Linked DNA regions of Homo sapiens: all the other regions are linked to region 3. Evidence: promoter capture Hi-C in 16 types of primary human blood cells and fetal thymus (Javierre and others, 2016). All regions are on one chromosome and are shown on one strand. The core of a region is centred on a gene start or on the middle of the fragment in contact, and the rest is flanking DNA. Distances in the headings are between cores, read along the strand shown. Region 1 holds the start of SNX12 (sorting nexin 12). Region 2 holds the start of FOXO4 (forkhead box O4). Region 3 has its middle 18 kb from the start of CXCR3. Region 4 holds the start of MED12 (mediator complex subunit 12).

The links. Contacts are between HindIII fragments. The CHiCAGO score rates a contact against its expected background, and 5 or more counts as called.
Region 1: a contact is called between the fragment with the promoter of SNX12 here and a fragment that was not itself captured in region 3, in 1 of 17 cell types (total B cells). The highest score is 7.1, in total B cells.
Region 2: a contact is called between the fragment with the promoter of FOXO4 here and a fragment that was not itself captured in region 3, in 1 of 17 cell types (fetal thymus). The highest score is 6.3, in fetal thymus.
Region 4: the fragment with the promoter of MED12 here is called in contact with a fragment that was not itself captured in region 3 in 3 of 17 cell types (naive CD8 T cells, total B cells and non-activated CD4 T cells); the score reaches 5.8 in naive CD8 T cells.

What each region holds. Positions count from the first base shown.
Region 1 is chrX:71,066,185-71,070,530 of GRCh38, forward strand. It overlaps SNX12 (sorting nexin 12), which reads right to left and starts at 2,150. Exons shown (of 4, transcript NM_013346.4): 1 at 1,958-2,150. The coding sequence starts at 2,122. RefSeq lists silencers at 2,113-2,306, 2,146-2,365. The HindIII fragment of the contact is 9,631 bases long and covers 1-3,988 here.
Region 2 is chrX:71,094,115-71,098,354 of GRCh38, forward strand. FOXO4 (forkhead box O4) reads left to right here and starts at 1,737. Exons shown (of 3, transcript NM_005938.4): 1 at 1,737-2,867. The coding sequence starts at 2,415. RefSeq lists an enhancer at 4,205-4,240. The HindIII fragment of the contact is 17,633 bases long and covers 1-4,240 here.
Region 3 is chrX:71,633,913-71,638,247 of GRCh38, forward strand. No RefSeq gene overlaps it. Among named protein-coding and RNA genes, the nearest start is that of CXCR3, 18 kb to the left of the region's middle. The HindIII fragment of the contact is 1,043 bases long and covers 1,933-2,975 here.
Region 4 is chrX:71,117,119-71,121,210 of GRCh38, forward strand. It overlaps MED12 (mediator complex subunit 12), which reads left to right and starts at 1,478. Exons shown (of 45, transcript NM_005120.3): 1 at 1,478-1,735; 2 at 2,255-2,359; 3 at 2,568-2,759; 4 at 2,896-3,052; 5 at 3,853-4,034. The coding sequence starts at 1,637. The HindIII fragment of the contact is 19,646 bases long and covers 1-4,092 here.

The DNA.
Region 1 (4,346 bases), core at 900-3,399, 570 kb before region 3:
CAGTTTCCCATGTGTAAAACGAAGTTCTGTAAGGATTAACACAAATTAAAACCTAGTTCAGTGCCTGGTACACAGTAGGCACTAGATGAACAGTCCCTGTTGCTATTAGAATACCTGGAGTAGGGCCAGGCGTGGTGGCTCACGCCTCTAATCCCAGCCCTTTGGGAGGCCGAGGCAGGAGGATCACTTGCGGTCAGCAGTTCAAGACCAGCCTGGCCAACATGGCGAAACCCCGTCTCTATTAAAAATACAAAAATTAGCCAGGCATGGTGGCATGTGCCTGTAATCCCAGCTACTCGGGAGGATGAGGCAGGAGAATTGCTTGAACCCAGGAGGCGGAGGTTGCAGCGAGCCGAGATTGCACCATTGCACGGCAGCCTGGGCAATAGAACGAGACTCCATCTCTTAAAAAAAAAAAAAAAAAAAAAAGAATACCCTGAGTAAAGAGCGATTTCATTCAGAATCCCTAAGACTCTTGGGTAATGCATTGAATGTCTCCAAAACCCCACAGCAGACAGCCCTTATGCTGTACTAGTCATGCCCAAGCTCCCTCAGGTAACTAAGTTCTCCAGCACTGACAATTTCCTGCTTTTATCATATTCTGAAGGACCTAAATTCCATTCTCCCCCAAAGACATGATTTCACATAGTTCTTATATAGACAAGTGTTTCTCATGTTTTGCTATTCACTTTTCTTTCTTCAGTTTGGACTTTGCCAAACTTGGAATCTGGAAATCATAATTTCTCAATAAGATTTCAAAGCCCAAGTAGGAGACCACAATTTCTCATTCAATTCACTCCTTCAACAATGAAAGCACATACACTCTTTTAGTTCTTCAATGCTGTTTGAGCAGGATGCTGTCCACAGAGAATATTCTGGCCTTTTAGTCTGAGAAGAAAACATAAGGAAAACTAGAAAATGATTCTCAAACTGTTTTGCCTATAACCACTTCAAGTGGGCAAAAGATCCTGCAAACCAAGTACTCTATCTGCACATTCCATCCTTGCATTATGGGCTAAGCACTAGAGAGTAAAGTCCTCTATCATGCATGCTGGAAGAAGCCACTCCTGGGCAATTCTGAAATGTCATGTATTAAAGTAACTACAGACCAGGGTCAGAATCCAAAAGGGTAATCTAGGACAGAAAGGGCAAAAAGCCATTCATATACAAAGTACCTAAACGAGAGTCAATAAATACTGAAATAAACATTCTGGATACTTCAAATCTAAAGGATCCACATAGAATGAAAGCAGTGACTGACAAGGCACCAATCCCAGGGCCAGGCCAGGTTTCAAGGCGAGACAGCACGTAGTATCTGCGAAAACTTAAGCATAAAACATTTCTCTCCTTCAGATGCTGATCCGACACAAGTTAGGAAAGCGCTCGGTCTCAAGGAGACTCCCTTTCTTATTTCTGCTCCCACAAGCCTACTGTCTGCCTTTTCTGGAATCTACCTTCCCTTTAATTCAAGGCTTTGCTTTACTCCATTATCCCAGGGAGACCTCATTAGAAAGCAGCCGGCCTTCCTGCCCTCCCTCTTCAGACTTCTCACAACCTAGTTTAGTTATGGAGCTCAGCGATATATCGCCTTGGCTTTCCATCCCCCAGCCCTCTTCCATCCTCCCTCCCTTCCTTCAGTCGCTACAGCCGTGATTCCTATCTCCTTGAATTCCTCACTCTAATCTTTTTCCATCCACCCCACCCTATCCAGCCATGCTTCACTTCCTCATGGGTAGCTTTCCTGCATCCCCGTCCGATGTCTCCCTCAGGAGTTTTCTGCATCCTCCGGCCACAACTGAATCGGCAGACCTCGTTCCAAGCCTATTATACCCCTAACCCCCAAATGACCCCTAAGGCGTCTTCCCCGCCGTTAGTTGCCCCCGCGGTAGCCTCCCTCCCCCCTCCCGCTCGCGCCGCCCGGTCCTCCCTCAGCTGTCTCCCTCACCCCGTGACTCACCCGCATGCGAACCTCATAGGTGGTGAAGCGCGCGCGTCCCACGCCCACCGTCTGAGGATTAAAGATGTCGATCTCCAGGAAGTTACTTGGCGGCCCGTAAGCGTCGGTCAGGTCCTGCGGCTTCGAGTTAAGGCGCCGGGTATCAGCTACTGCCGTGTCCGACATCTTTCCGAAGGAGAGCCTGGGACCGGGGAAAGGGGGTGGGGGACAGAGGCCTGAGGCAGGAGCGCGCACGGCCCCTCCCGCTTGCAAAATAACTAGCCAACCCACAGGCGGCGGCGGCGCGCACGCGCGCCCACGCACGCACGCGCACGCCGCACGGGCCTGGGCCCCGGGCTCTGAATAGCGGCCGTGCTGACTGCTGCGCGCCCTGTAGAGTGGAGGCCATATTCAGGCTTCCGGGTGATGTTTGTGGCCACCCGGGAACCTGCATCCCCAATACGCAGTACCCAATACCCTGCCTAGCAGCACAGGCTGGCTCCGCCAATCGCGGCTCCTCAACCCAAGAAATTGTCTCGTACCGTGTATCAATCAACAGTGGGCACTGCCCCGTGAGCCAGGCTCCTACAGTGATAGGCCGAAGCCCAGTGACCTGAATAAGTCCTGGTTTTCCGCGAAAATAGAAGGGTGGTCTATGGAGGGTGGGGTTCCAACAATAGTACTGAGAACCTATAACGTAGCCGTCCCACCTGTGCCACTGATGGTTTCAGTTCACGCCACACACAATGGCGCACTCAGCACTACGTATGGCGCCAGGAAAGCAGCAAGCAACTAGGATGGGGTAAAGAAAGACATTTCTCTCTTACTTTTCAGGAAAATTGGGCATATCTTACTCCTTGTTGCCACACTCCAGGTGTACTCAATCTTACATTTATCAGCAAATTGAGGGTACTTATTTCATACCTTCTATTTCTACTCCGCAGAACTCCATACTTGGCACTGCTCTGAGGTTGCTTGCAACCCATAATGGAGATAGAATAAATGTTTACATGAGAATATCTATAGAAATATTAATATTTATATGACTAATTTACATATGCTCCACATTAAAGGGTAGACTGGGTGATGATTTCAGGTCATCCTTTCTCCACCTTTCCCCTGCCCTCCTCTACTCAAAAAATATTTCCCATATCACTGATGCCTGAAATTCTTTCAACAGAGTATGAGGCCCTACAATTTCACAATTGCTGTTTAATTCAATTTAACCAATATCCACTAAGCAAATACGTGCCAAGCACCATGCTAAACACTAAAATCCTGGAGTTAAATAAGAGTCCCTGCCCTCAAGGAGTTAACATTCTAGCAAGGGAGACAAGTAAACAAAACTAATATAATGCGACAAATACAAAATAAGTAAATGTTCAAAGCAGCACATAGGAAATGTATAACTGGAAAAATTAGGGGAGGTTCCCCTGGAGGAGGAAACATCTGAGTTTAACAGACATGAAAAGACATAAAGGACAAATAGGAGTGGAAATAGGGAAAGGTAATTTCTGGAATAAGAAACAGCATATGCAGGCCGGGCGCGGTGGCTCACACCTGTAATCCCAGCACTTTGGGAGGCCGAGGCAGGCAGATCACTTGAGGTCAAGAGTTCGAGATCAGCCTGGCCAACATGGTGAAACCCTGTCTCTATTAAAAATACAAAAATTAGCTGGGCATGGTGGCACACGCCTGTAATCCCAGCTACTCAGGAGGCTGAGGCAGGAGAATCGCTTGAACCCGGGAGGCAGAGGTTGCAGTGAGCTGAGATCATGCCACTGCACTCCATCCTGGGCAACAGAGCAAGACTCCATCAAAAAAAGAAAGAAAGAAAAGGAAAAGAAAAGAGAGAGAGAGAGAGAGCGAAAGAAAGAAAGAATACACAAAGTCCTTGCGATAAGAAACAGTGGAGCATTTTTAGGCATTTATCGCCAATTCAGACTGTGTGATGGAAGTGTTTAGAAAGGTAGACTGGCTAGGGATGGGCAGACAAAGGATGATCCGCTTATATTAAGTAAAGGATCTCTGACTTCATGATAGGTGATACAAAGCTTTCTGGTAGGTGATAGGGAGTCCCTGAAGGATCCTAAGCAGGAAAAATACATGATCAGATTTATGTTTTAGAAGAATTGTTTTGTAGACAACATGGAAGGTATATTTAAGTTGAATTATGAAGGTATTGACAATAAGACTCCGAATCAAGTGGTGATGGTGACAATGGAGAGGAGGGAAGAGATAGGAAAGAGATTGAAGAAATAAAATAGATACGACTTGTACGTGATTAGATATGGTGGTAGTATAGTGTAGGGCTTAAATGTGTGACCCATGAACTTAGGCTGCCTGGGTTTAAATCCTTGCTTTCTAGCTGTATAACCATGAGCAAATTATACAAACAGTTTTCCTCATC
Region 2 (4,240 bases), core at 487-2,986, 540 kb before region 3:
AGGTCAAGGCTGCAGTGAGCCAAGATCACACCACTGCATTCCAGTCTGAGTGACAGAGCAAGACCCTGTCTCAAAAAAGAAGGAAAGAAGGAAGGAAGGAAGGAAGGAAGGAAGGAAGGAAGGAAGGAAGGAAGGAAGGAGAAAGAAAGAAAGAAAGAAAGAAAGAAAAAGAAAGAAAGAAAGAAAGAAAGAAAGAAAGAAAGAAAGAAGGAAGGAGAAAGAAAGAAGGAAGGAAGGAAGGAAAGAAAGAAAGAAGGAAGGAAAGAAAGAAAGAAATTATACGATCGCATGTAAGTTATATAATCCCAGTTCTGCCTCGTTGGGCAAGTCAATCTCTGAGCATTGTTAGTGTCTTCATCTATAAAATGCGGATAATAGTGGTACCTACCTCATGGGGTTGAATTGAGGAGTAAATGATTGAGGAGTAAATGAACTAATGTTCGTAAAGCAATTTGCACAGAGACTGGCACATAATAAGGGCTCCATAAATTTTAGCCATAATTACCAGACATGTTTCTTAGAACGGTAACCTTGCTGGCAGCTCTGAATATAAACTGTAGTGAGGTAAAGACTGATGGAAGGAGATCCAATTAAGATGATACTGCACCTTTTTTTTTTTTTGACAGGGTGTTATTCTGTCACCCAGGCTGGAGCACAGTGGCATGATCTTGGCTCACTGCAACCTCCACCTCTTGGGTTCAAGCGACTCTCCCACCTCAGCCTCCCAAGTAGCTGGGACTACAGGTGCGTGCCCCACACCAGGCTAATTTTTCTATTTTTAGCAGAGATGGGTTTCACCATGTTGGCCAGGCTGGTCTCAAACTCCTGACCTCAAGTGATCCGCCTGCCTCGACCTCCCAAAGTGCTGATATTACAGGCGTCAGCCACTGCACCCGGCTGATCCTACAATTTAAATGCAGTTATAAATAGGTCTTGAACTGGGATTTGGATGTAGAAAGTTACGGAGATGAAGAAGTAATGGGTAATTACCTCTAAGCTGCTGCTTGGAGCTTGGGAGACTGGGTAGATCAGGACTACCATAAGTCAAATTCAGAGATAAGGGTAGCCAGAGGATAGGGGTGCGGGTGCAGGAACAGATAATGAGTTTGGACCTGTTGAATGAGAAGTGAAGCCGTTGGAGATGTGAACCTGGAGAATATCGGTGTTGAAGGGAAAGCCAGAAGAGCCAGTGGAGGAAACTGATTGGTAAGTGAGACCTCACTGTCAGTGGGAACTGCATATGGGGGGATGAAGGCGGGTGGAGGGAGGAGGAAGGGGGTGAGGAGGAACACCACCGTGGGCTAACCATTTGTTTATGTTACACAAGCCCCCCACCCAACTCTCCAACGTGCATACATCCTATTTTCTAGTCAGTTCCTTGCTTCTTGCTTCTTGGTCTCCTGCATCTTTAAGAGAATAATTTTTTCCCTTTTGCCGTCTCCTAAATGAAGGAGGGAAAGGGCTAGCACCTCTCAATCTGGTCACCTACACGACTCTGAATCACAAGGGAGACAATGGAAAGGGGGAAAGGGCGAAAAACGATTCTTAAGAAAAGAAAGAGTCCGCGACGACTTCTAATAATTAAAGTTCCACCTCGTTATATCCTGCCACGCCGCTCTCCTGCCGCCGTATCGGGCTCCTGGCCGCGAAGCAGGACGGGAGATGTAGTCCTCAAGAGTGACCAGGGTGGCACGACTGCAGAACTCGGTTTCCCGACTGGCTTTCGAGGCGCGTGCGCAGATGGCTGCCCCGGCGAGTGGTAAACAGAGACGTCAGGAGGGGGCTGCTGCTTGGAGCAAAACAAAAGGGAAACCCGGGGGGCGGGGGGTGGGGGGGGTTGATAGGGGAATCGGTGCGGGAATAAGGGAGGCCGCAGCCGCGGGGACCCGGACCCTAGTAAGAGTGGCGAGAAGGGAAGAGGCGGGGGAAGGGGGAGTCAGGGGAGGGGCAAGTGACGCGGGGGAGCGGGGCGTGGGGGAGGGCAGCAATCCGGGTGGAGGAAATTTGGGAGGAGTGTCCGGGGGGCAGCAACTTAAAAGGGGGAGGGAACTGCGGCTAAGGAGACGTTCGGTGATGGGAGCGCAATATATGAGGGGATACAGTGCCTCAGGTTTAAAAGAGCAGGAAGCTGAGTGAGAGGTTGCAGAAAAAGTGTCTTCGCTCGGCAGAGGTTACAGGTGGCATCTCAGAAAGAGCTTTGAGGCTACAGGCTGTAGTCGGGAAGGGGATCGGAGAACTGTGTGAAGGGACAGCTTAGGGACTAGCGTCCTGGGACTAGGGGGAAGTTCGCGACTTTCTGAAGACTGGCAGGAATGTGCCTCCTGGCCCTCGATGCTTCCCCCCTGAGGGGAGGCATCGTGAGGGACTGTGGCAGGCTTCACTGAACGCTGAGCCGGGGAGGTCCAACTCCACGTATGGATCCGGGGAATGAGAATTCAGCCACAGAGGCTGCCGCGATCATAGACCTAGATCCCGACTTCGAACCCCAGAGCCGTCCCCGCTCCTGCACCTGGCCCCTTCCCCGACCAGAGATCGCTAACCAGCCGTCCGAGCCGCCCGAGGTGGAGCCAGATCTGGGGGAAAAGGTACACACGGAGGGGCGCTCAGAGCCGATCCTGTTGCCCTCTCGGCTCCCAGAGCCGGCCGGGGGCCCCCAGCCCGGAATCCTGGGGGCTGTAACAGGTCCTCGGAAGGGAGGCTCCCGCCGGAATGCCTGGGGAAATCAGTCATATGCAGAACTCATCAGCCAGGCCATTGAAAGCGCCCCGGAGAAGCGACTGACACTTGCCCAGATCTACGAGTGGATGGTCCGTACTGTACCCTACTTCAAGGACAAGGGTGACAGCAACAGCTCAGCAGGATGGAAGGTAATTATGACCCTCTTACCTTCTTCCCAACACCATCTACCCCCTGGACCCCCTAGCCTCCCTTACTTCTACTCTGGGGCCCCTTTTACTACCTCCCACCCCCACCCCCTTTGGGAAGCCCAGAGATCCACCTTCAATCTCCAGTTAGACAAACATTTACTTAGTACATAGTATATGCCACACTCGGTGCTTGATGCTGAAGGATCACAGATGAATAAGACACTGTCCCTGCCCTGGAGAAAATTGAATTCTCTGCTCACTGCTCAATATTCGCAGCACTTTGGCTTGGGCTGCCCCAAACACTTATTCCCACAGAGAAGTCTTTATCCTATGTACAGCAGGAACTGTGTGGATTCCCCACATGAACCTACCCTTCCCTCCTCCCCCACCTCCCACCCCAACACCTTTTCTCCCATTCCTGTGGGATTACTTGGATTCCCTGCTTGCCTCCCAGTACCTCAGTGTAGTGGTACTGTTCTAGCACTGCTCTACCCAGGAGGAGGGAGTGCAGTGGCAAAGGGTAAAAACAATAATATTCATGGGGAAAGGTAGCTGATCTCATGCACTAAGAAGAAAAAGGGCTGTGAGCTGCCACTTGGCTCAGCTTACCCTGTGCTGCCAAGAAACTCTCCCTTGTAAGGGGCTATCCAAGTTTTGGGGGGAAGTCATCCTTTACTGTTAAGGAATATTAGTCATGAAGAAGGAGGTAGGGCTCTGACTTTAGAGCACAAAGTTGGGAGTTCTCTTGGCCTTCTGTGAAGAAACTGTGAGAGAATATCTCAAAGGATACTCTGAAAAACTTGTCCTGAGAAAATATGGGGCTGTAATCACAAAATTGGGGAGCCTCAAGCCCTATTGCTGGCTTGTACCTCTCTAGGTGGTGAGGTCAGCATATAACCAAGTACAGAAGGTTGGATGAGCAGAGGAACTTCCCCTAGGTATAGGAGACTGAGGGATCAGATCTGTGCTATCCCTAGGGGCTGGGCAGAACAGAAGATAGGACAGCTGACTGAGACCCTTGGCACTATTTCTGGGTAGACTGCCACGCCACAGTCTCAGCTCATAAAAAGCTCCCCTCCTTGGACCCAGCCTACACAGCTGTTTTTCTTTTCCCTTAGGTTCATTTTCCAGGGTAGAGGAAATAACAAGTTGTTAGTTATATTGTGGGAGTATAGTCCGTCCTTATAATCTACACTTCTGTGGGGCTTTAGAGTTTACAAAGTAGTTTTTAAAGTTTTTATTTTATTAATCTTTACAGCAATTCTGAGATTCCACATTTTACACATTAGGAAACTAGGTACCAAAAGGTTAGGAAATTCACCTAATAACAGCAGGGTGAGGACTTGAACTCAGGTCTAACTATAAATCATATT
Region 3 (4,335 bases), core at 1,204-3,703:
CCTGCCTCTCGTGGCCACATGAGTGAAGAGGCTGACTAGGAGACAGAGAATCTGGTAAGACCCAGAGCCCGGTGTGGTGGCACACGCCTGTAGTCCCAGGTACTCGGGAGGCTGAGACGGGAGGATCACTTGAGCCCAGGAATTTGAGACCAGCCAGGGCAACACAGTGGGAGCCCATCTTTATAAGAAAAAAAAATTTAAATTAGCCAGGTGTGGTGGTGTGTGCTTGTAGTCTCAGCTACTTGGGAGGCTGAGGCAGGAGAATCACTTGAGCCCAGGAGTTCGAAACTATAGCGAGCCATGATTGTGCCGCTGTACTCTAGCCTGGGTGACAGACTGAGACCCTGGTTCTTAAAAAAAAAAAGACCCAGATTTGTCAGGCCAAGCCAGACTAGGCTATGCTGTGAAACAAAAAGTACCAAACCTCAGAGCGTTAATCAAACAGAACTTTATTTTTTATTCACATTAAATGTACAACACAGGTTAGCGAAGGCTTGGCTTACTGTAGTCATCCAGGGACCCAGGCGCTGACAGTGGCCCCATCTTGGCACATTCTTTCATGCTCACTGCAGCAGTGGGATGAGAACGAGATGAATTGTACACTGTGTCTTAAAGCTTCATTGGCAAAGGCAAGCCACATGTCCACACCTAACTCTAAAGAGATTCCCTGGGACGTGCAATCCCGCCACAGGCCTGGAAGGAGGACCTATTTGTAGATCCAGCAGCTGTCAACACTCATCTCTAGTCAAGACTTGGCTTTTACATGGCTTAGAGGGAAAGGGGAGACATGGATTTCTACAAGCCCACGAGGCCAGGGCCAGAGGCAGACCATGTGTCCTAACCCCATCCTCCACCACCCTAAGGTGTGGGAGAAAACAGGATACCAGCCATGCTCAGGGCTACCTTCAAGCCCCAGAATGGAAACAGTTACACTGAAAATCATAAGAAGAAATTAAAAACCATGATTTCCTTTTGTAGCTTGTATTTATTTCCTACTGCTGCTATAAAAAATTATGACAAATTTAGTGGCTTCAAACAATACAAATTTATTACCTTATAGTTCTAGAAGTCAGAAGTCTGAGATGCGGGCTGGGTGCAGTGGCTCAAGCCTGTAATCCCAGCACTTTGGGAGGCTGAGGCGGGCGGATCACCTGAGGTCAGAAGTTCGAGACCAGCCTGGCCAACATGGTGAAACAAATAATATTTTTAGTCTCTACTAAAAATAAAAATAAAAAATTAGCCAGGCGTGGTGGCATGCACCTGTAGTCCCAGTTACTGGGGAGGCTGAGGCAGGAGAATTGCTTGAACCCAGGACGCGGAGGTTGCAGTGAGCCAAGATCCTGCCATTGCACTCTAGCCTGGGTGACAAGAGTGAAAATCTGACTCAAAAAAAAAAAAAAAAAAAGCCTGAGATGCGTCTCACTGGACTAAAATCAAAGTGTTGGCAGGCTTGGTGTTTCTTCTAGAGGCTCTAGGGAAGAGTCTATTTCCTTGCGTTTTCCAACTTCTGGATGCCTTGGCCCATGGCCCCTTCCCCCATCTTAAAACCTGGTAACGTCAGGCCAAGTCCTTCTCACACTGCCATCTGTCTGGTTCGTTCATTCTGCCTCCCTCTTCTACTTATAGGGATGCTGAGATTACACTGGGCCTACCTGGATAATCCAAGAGAATATCCCTGTCACAAGTGTGCTGATTGGCAACCTTAATTTTATCTGCAATCTTCATTCCCCTTCGACATGTAATCTCACACACACACAGGTTCTGGGTTAGGATGTGGATGTAGATATCTTTGGTAGTTGGGGAATTATTCTGCCTACCACAGAGGCCTAGGAAGAAAAGGGTCGTTATCCTAGGAGGAAAAGTGGCAATGTCCCCTGGGAGATTTCCTGTGAAAACATGATGTTGGGCTACACCCCCCACTTAAGTATTTTAAGCTTGGTTTTTTCTTTTTGTGGAGACCGGGTTTCACTATGTTGCCCAGGCTGGTCTCGATCCTCCCACCTTGGCCTCCCAAAGTGCTGGGACTACATGCATGAGCCTCTGTGCCCGGCCTAAGTATTTTAACATTAGATTGGATGTTGGCTTTTTATTTTATTTTATTATTATTATTTTTTCCAAGACAGAGTCTCGCTCTGTCACCCAAGCTGGAGTGCAGTGGTGCAATTTGGGCTCACTGCAACCTCTGCCTCCCTGGCTTCAAGCGATTCTCCTGCCTCAGCCTCCCAAGTAACTGGGACTACAGGCACGTGCCACCACATCCGGCTAATTTTTTTGTATTTTTAGTAGACAATCAGTTTATCCCTTTAGGTGCCATAGGCTGAAGCCTGTATCTTCCCTCCTTGTGTTTCCCTCTTTCTCCCCACACCTTATCAAAATGAAGCCAGCTATGTGCTTTATTGCCTCAGGAGAGGTATACAGCCTGGGTAGAAGGAGAAGAGGGAGGAGAGAGAGAGCTGTGGGTCCCCGGGCCCTGCTTCCTAGTAACACTCTGAGGAGCTGGTAATTCCCCAAAGAGGAGTGGTCCCTTGGTGTGTGCAGGGAGATGCACCGGAAACTGCAGGCCTTCCAGCTGCCTGGCAGATTTCCTCAGCCACAGAAGCAGCAATGAACAGGGTAGAATGAATGGCTTAGCAGAAACTTACAGACAACAAGACCCTCTACCCCTCTGCCCCTAGATGTCTGATACCGTGAAAGGTCCCAAGACCTCTTCTTGACATCAGGGAAGCAGGAAATGTGAGGATGACTCAGGGTGAATTTCCCAGACTCTGCCAAGACGGAGTGCAGAATTGAAATTAGATTGATATAGAAAAACAATAAAGAGAGGCAATGTTTCTTGTATACCTAGATTTATAGTCTGGGATGACTAACAATAAAGAAAGATACACCTTTCAATGTACTGAGGAGCCTGGGCATAGTAGAAGAGAAAGCAGGGGGGAGCCATGCATAGTACACGGGGAATCACAAGTTTAACATGAAGCTTTTGATTTTCTTTATCCACATCAGAGAATATGATTCTCCTTCACAGGGCAGTTAATATGCAATAGCATTATGGGAAGACTGAGAAAGAATGAAAAATAGCTGGGGTGCTCTAAAGAACATTTCCTACGTAAATTGGTGCAGCCTTTTTGGAGAGCAGCTGGGTAGTATCTAGGCAACAGGTGCATCTGCGATGATTCAGCAACCCTACCAGCACAAGTGCTCAGAAGCGTATGTTCTTAAATAGGTTCCCTCCTCTCTGCCCTTCCTCCCGAGGCTCAAGCTGGCATCTCTCTACTGGCCCGCTGTGACAGCCCCTCTTACCTGATTCCCCTGTGCCCAGTCTTGCCTTGATATGGAAAGATTGCTCAGGATACAAATCTAATCATATCATTTCCCTGTTCAAAACTCGACAGTGCTCTTCCCCATGGCCCTGTGTATATAGGTCGATGCCCTGAGCCTGACACACAAGGCCCCAGTGGCCTGGCTCTTTAACAAGAGTCCCACTTACTAAGCATACTGCCAAGTTTGTTCACCAAATGAGTCAACAGGCTCCTCTCCATGCCTCTGTGCATGTGTTCCCATGTGCTCTGTCCTAACTCAGTTGCCTTATCCATTGGGAATCTCTTCCTTTCAGAAGCTGGCCTCAAACCTCCAATGCAGTAGTGACTGCTTCTTTTTGGGCTCCCACAGGACAGTCTGCACCAGCGTAGAATAGAATTTTGGATACCGGATTTTAATTTTTTTTTTTTTTTTTTTTTGAGACAGGGTCTTGCTCTGTCGCCTAAGCTGGAGTGCAATGGCATGATCTCGGCTCATTGCAACCTCTGCCTCCCAGGCTCCAGTGATCCTCCCACCTCAGCCTTCTGGATTGTAATTTTTAAAACAATTCTTTTTCCTCCACTTAAAGAATTCTTTGAAGATACAGGCTATCCCTGGTAGGTCTATATTCCCACCGTCTTGTAAGATTCTCAGTGATTCTCTCCAAGGACTTGGTTTCAGGCCCTGGGGCTCGGCTCCTCATTCTCCCAGATCACTTTCTTCTGGTCTCAGTTACCTCAGGCTAAGGGACTGGACTTAGAGATGACTTCAACACCAGAGGGGTGGCGCAGGCAGTAAGTCCTGCTTTCACTCAGCTGGATCAACAAAAGACACGATATCTGGACTGCATGCCTGTATCTGTCACTTCCTGTATGATCATGGACAGATCACAGTCTTTAAGGCTGTTTCTTCCTCAGTAAAATGAGCAAAATAATAATAGCTACCCTCAGAGACTGTTGTGTAGTTACTGAGAGACGAAGTGAAAGTGCTGCACTCTAATAACCTCCAAAGAACCATGTTAGTTAAATGTGGCACAGA
Region 4 (4,092 bases), core at 228-2,727, 520 kb before region 3:
TCAAAACAATAAATAAAATAAAAAATAAAATAAAATAAAAATATCCTTCAGAGTTAGTTCAAATGTTACCTCAGCCTCCTGAGCAGCTGGCATTACAGGCGCCTGCCACCACACAAGCTAATTTTTGTATTTTTAGTAGAGATGGGATTTCACCACGTTGGCCAGGCTGGTCTTGAACTCCTGACCTCAGGTGATTCCCTGCCTTGGCCTCCCAAAGTGCTGGGATTACGGACGTGAGCCACCACTCCCCGCCTTGAATTACTTCTTCTTTCCATTGTGATTCAATAGCATTTTGTTATTTTTGTTACTGGTGTTATTTTTGTTTATTGTTATTTGTTACTTTTGTTACAGCACACTGGCTGTCTTTTCTCTAAAAGGCAATACAAGGCCGGCACAGTGGCGCACGCCTGTAGTCCAGGCTACTGGGAGGCTGAGGCGGGAGGATCGCTGGAGTCCAGAAGGTTGATGCTGCAGTGAGCCGTGATAGCGCCACTGCACTCCAGCCTAGGCGACAGAGGGAGAACCTGCCTCAAAATAAACAAATAGCAATACGACAATAGGATATTGGCTCTGGAATTCAGAATCTTAGTGCCAGCTCTGTTACTCAGTAGCTGTATAATATTGGATAAGTGAATTTTCACACTTTGAAAACCAGCTTCCTCCATCCGCAAAATCGAGCCAATAATAATCCCTAACTCATGAGGCTGTGAGCAGATTAAAGGAGATAGTGTCTGAAAAGCATCTGACACAATAGGTGCCTCTTTAGCTAGACCAAGGGTTCTTAACCTGGAGTTCATGGACCCTTAGGGGATACATGGATGAACTTCAGGGGATCTAAGAATCTAAAGCAACATTTTGCATGTCAATATATGCATATTATTATTATTATTATTATTATTTCTGGGAAGAAGGTCCATAGCTTTCATCAGCACCTTTAAGGGTTTGTGAATCAAAAACGTTAGTATGCGGTACCCTTGGGCAGAAAAACAAACAAGAAAAGGTTAGACAACTCGATGGTAGACCTTGAGGGATTAGAGCCAGCCTTTCAGGGTTTAATAGGTTCTTTCTCATGCATACATAGTTTCTAATGTTCACAATAGCCCCTTGAAGGAGGTGTTAGCGCACCTATTTTTCAGATGCCGGAACTAAGAAACGAACTGATCTGTAATAGACGGAGTTCCTAACCAATGCAAATATTATTGAAGACTTTTCTAGGCCAAAACCGAGCTAGGCTATGGGAACCGAAGTCCAGTCAGAACTCAGCACCACAGAGGCCTCCTTCTTCCCTGGTTTGCATCCCCAGCTCATTCTGCGCCTCCGGAACGTTTCATAGATTTTTGCTGAGTGAAATCGACTTGCTGCCGCCACCGCCGAAAAACTCCCGGGGCACAGAGCTCCGCCCCCACCGGGCCAGGCCCCACCTCCTCTGCAGTCGGTATTGTCCGATGGTTCCCGGCGTACCTCGGCTTCCCTCGGTAGTTTCCGGCAATGGTCGAGAGTTTCTAACGTGCCCCCTTGTTGTCTCTCGGCCGCCGTCCTCTCAACCACCGCCCCCCTTTTCGGCTCCCTCTCCCCCTTCCCGTTCCCCCAGTCAGCCTGGCCCTGCTGGTGCCTCCGGCGCTACGGGCTGGGCAAGATGGCGGCCTTCGGGATCTTGAGCTACGAACACCGGCCCCTGAAGCGGCCGCGGCTGGGGCCTCCCGATGTTTACCCTCAGGACCCCAAACAGAAGGAGGTGCGTTCGAAAATCGGGGCTCTGGAGGGGCCGGGGGCACGCGGTCAGCCTAGGAGGAGGCACTGACGGCTGGGAATGGGGGGCGGGGCGGTTCGGTGAGAGCAAAAGTCCCGAAAGGGGGAAGAGTAAAGTGGGCTGGCGTGGGAGGGCAGGACGGGGGGCGGTGGGGGGTTCCAAGGTATGAATAGGGGGTGGTGTAGGGGCCGCACCAGAGGCGCCCTCCTCCACACACACCTCAGAAAGTTGTCTGAGACAGCTTGGTGGGGTACGGCTGCTCGGCTGTTCGCAAGAGAAGAGTGATGTTTGAGGGCGCGCTGGGTGGCTGGGAATCCTAGTGACCATGGGAGTGAGGGTGGGGTCCAAGTGAACGTAAGGGCCCAGCTTTAAGTAACGATCTGTTCTACACGGAACCCTCCTCCTGCCCTTTCACCTTGTTCCTTCTTTTCTCCTGCCCTACTCTCCCACCCCTTCCCCCTTCCCCTAAGGAAAAAACAACTAAACGCCGCTTTCCTGCCTCAGGATGAACTGACGGCCTTGAATGTAAAACAAGGTTTCAATAACCAGCCTGCTGTCTCTGGGGATGAGCATGGCAGTGCCAAGAACGTCAGCTTCAATCCTGCCAAGGTGAGACAACTCTGCCAGGCTGAAGGAAAAGGCTGGAAGAATCTAAGAAGGAGCAAAGGCCCTGGGTTGGGAAGACTTATAGGGACAACCTAAGTGGCTGAGTTTGCCTTCATGACCTAATACTATCTCATTGGCATTTGCCCAGCAAAAGGCAGGACCACCTGTCTGCCCCTTCTTCCCACCCTGAGGTACACTTTTCTTCCCTCAGATCAGTTCCAACTTCAGCAGCATTATTGCAGAGAAATTACGTTGTAATACCCTTCCTGACACTGGTCGCAGGAAGCCCCAAGTGAACCAGAAGGATAACTTCTGGCTGGTGACTGCACGATCCCAGAGTGCCATTAACACTTGGTTCACTGACTTGGCTGGCACCAAGCCACTCACGCAACTAGCCAAAAAGGTAAGGTACTGTTTCCTGTCCTTCAGGCCAAGGAGGGAGCATGGGGTACCAAGTACCCTCCTATTCCCATATTAAGCTACATGGGTGTCAGCTCATGGGGATAATAGAGACCTCACTATTTGCAATGTCCATCCAGGTCCCCATTTTCAGTAAGAAGGAAGAGGTGTTTGGGTACTTAGCCAAATACACAGTGCCTGTGATGCGGGCTGCCTGGCTCATTAAGATGACCTGTGCCTACTATGCAGCAATCTCTGAGACCAAGGTTAAGAAGAGACATGTTGACCCTTTCATGGGTGAGTAACTCCTAACACCAGGTGTACTGCTGATGGCTTCAAGGAGTGATAGAGACACCCTTGGAACCATCCTCCTTCTTAATCTAGATTCCTTGTTTCTGCTTGTTTCTTGCATTTGTTTGATCAGTAAACACTGAGAAATTTGAGTGTCTACTGTGCGCATATACTGGGCTACAAAGATGTCCGGTGCATAATCTCTGCCCCTAGGATACTAGTAGTCTAACAGGGCTGCTAAGGTATATGTACAAATAACATAATTAAATATAGAAAGTGGTGAATGTCAAGCTAGGAGCAGAAGGTTCTTTGAGTGGACAAAAGATTACTTTCTTATGGGGGTACCCGGAAAGGCTTTAGGAAGGTGGGATTTGACTAGAGACTAAAAGGATGAACTGAATTTACAAATATGGTGATTAGGGGTGGGGGTAAGGTATTCTAAGTAGAAGGATTTTTTTTTTTTTGAGACAGAGCAAGACTCTGTCACCCAGGCTAGAGTGCAGTGGCAGGATCTTGGCTTACTGCAACCTCCACCTCCCGGGTTAAAGTGATTCTCCTGTCTCAGCCTCCCGAGTAGCTGGGATTACAGGCGCCCACCACTGCGCCCGGCTAATTTTTGTATTTTTCTAGAGACGGGGTTTCACCATCTTGGCCAGGCTGGTCTCGAACTCCTGACCTCGTGATCCACCTGCCTCAGCCTCCCAAAGTGCTGGGATTACAGGCATGAGCCACCGCACCCAGCCAGTAGAAGGATATTCTAAGCAGAAGGATAGTATCAAATAGCCCTTTTTCCCTCTTTCCTCCAGAATGGACTCAGATCATCACCAAGTACTTATGGGAGCAGTTACAGAAGATGGCTGAATACTACCGGCCAGGGCCTGCAGGAAGTGGGGGCTGTGGTTCCACGATAGGGCCCTTGCCCCATGATGTAGAGGTGGCAATCCGGCAGTGGGATTACACCGAGAAGCTGGCCATGTTCATGTTTCAGGTAGAGAGTAGGGCATGCTGTGTGGGGCATTGGGTTGAGCTTGAACTTGTACTCTGCC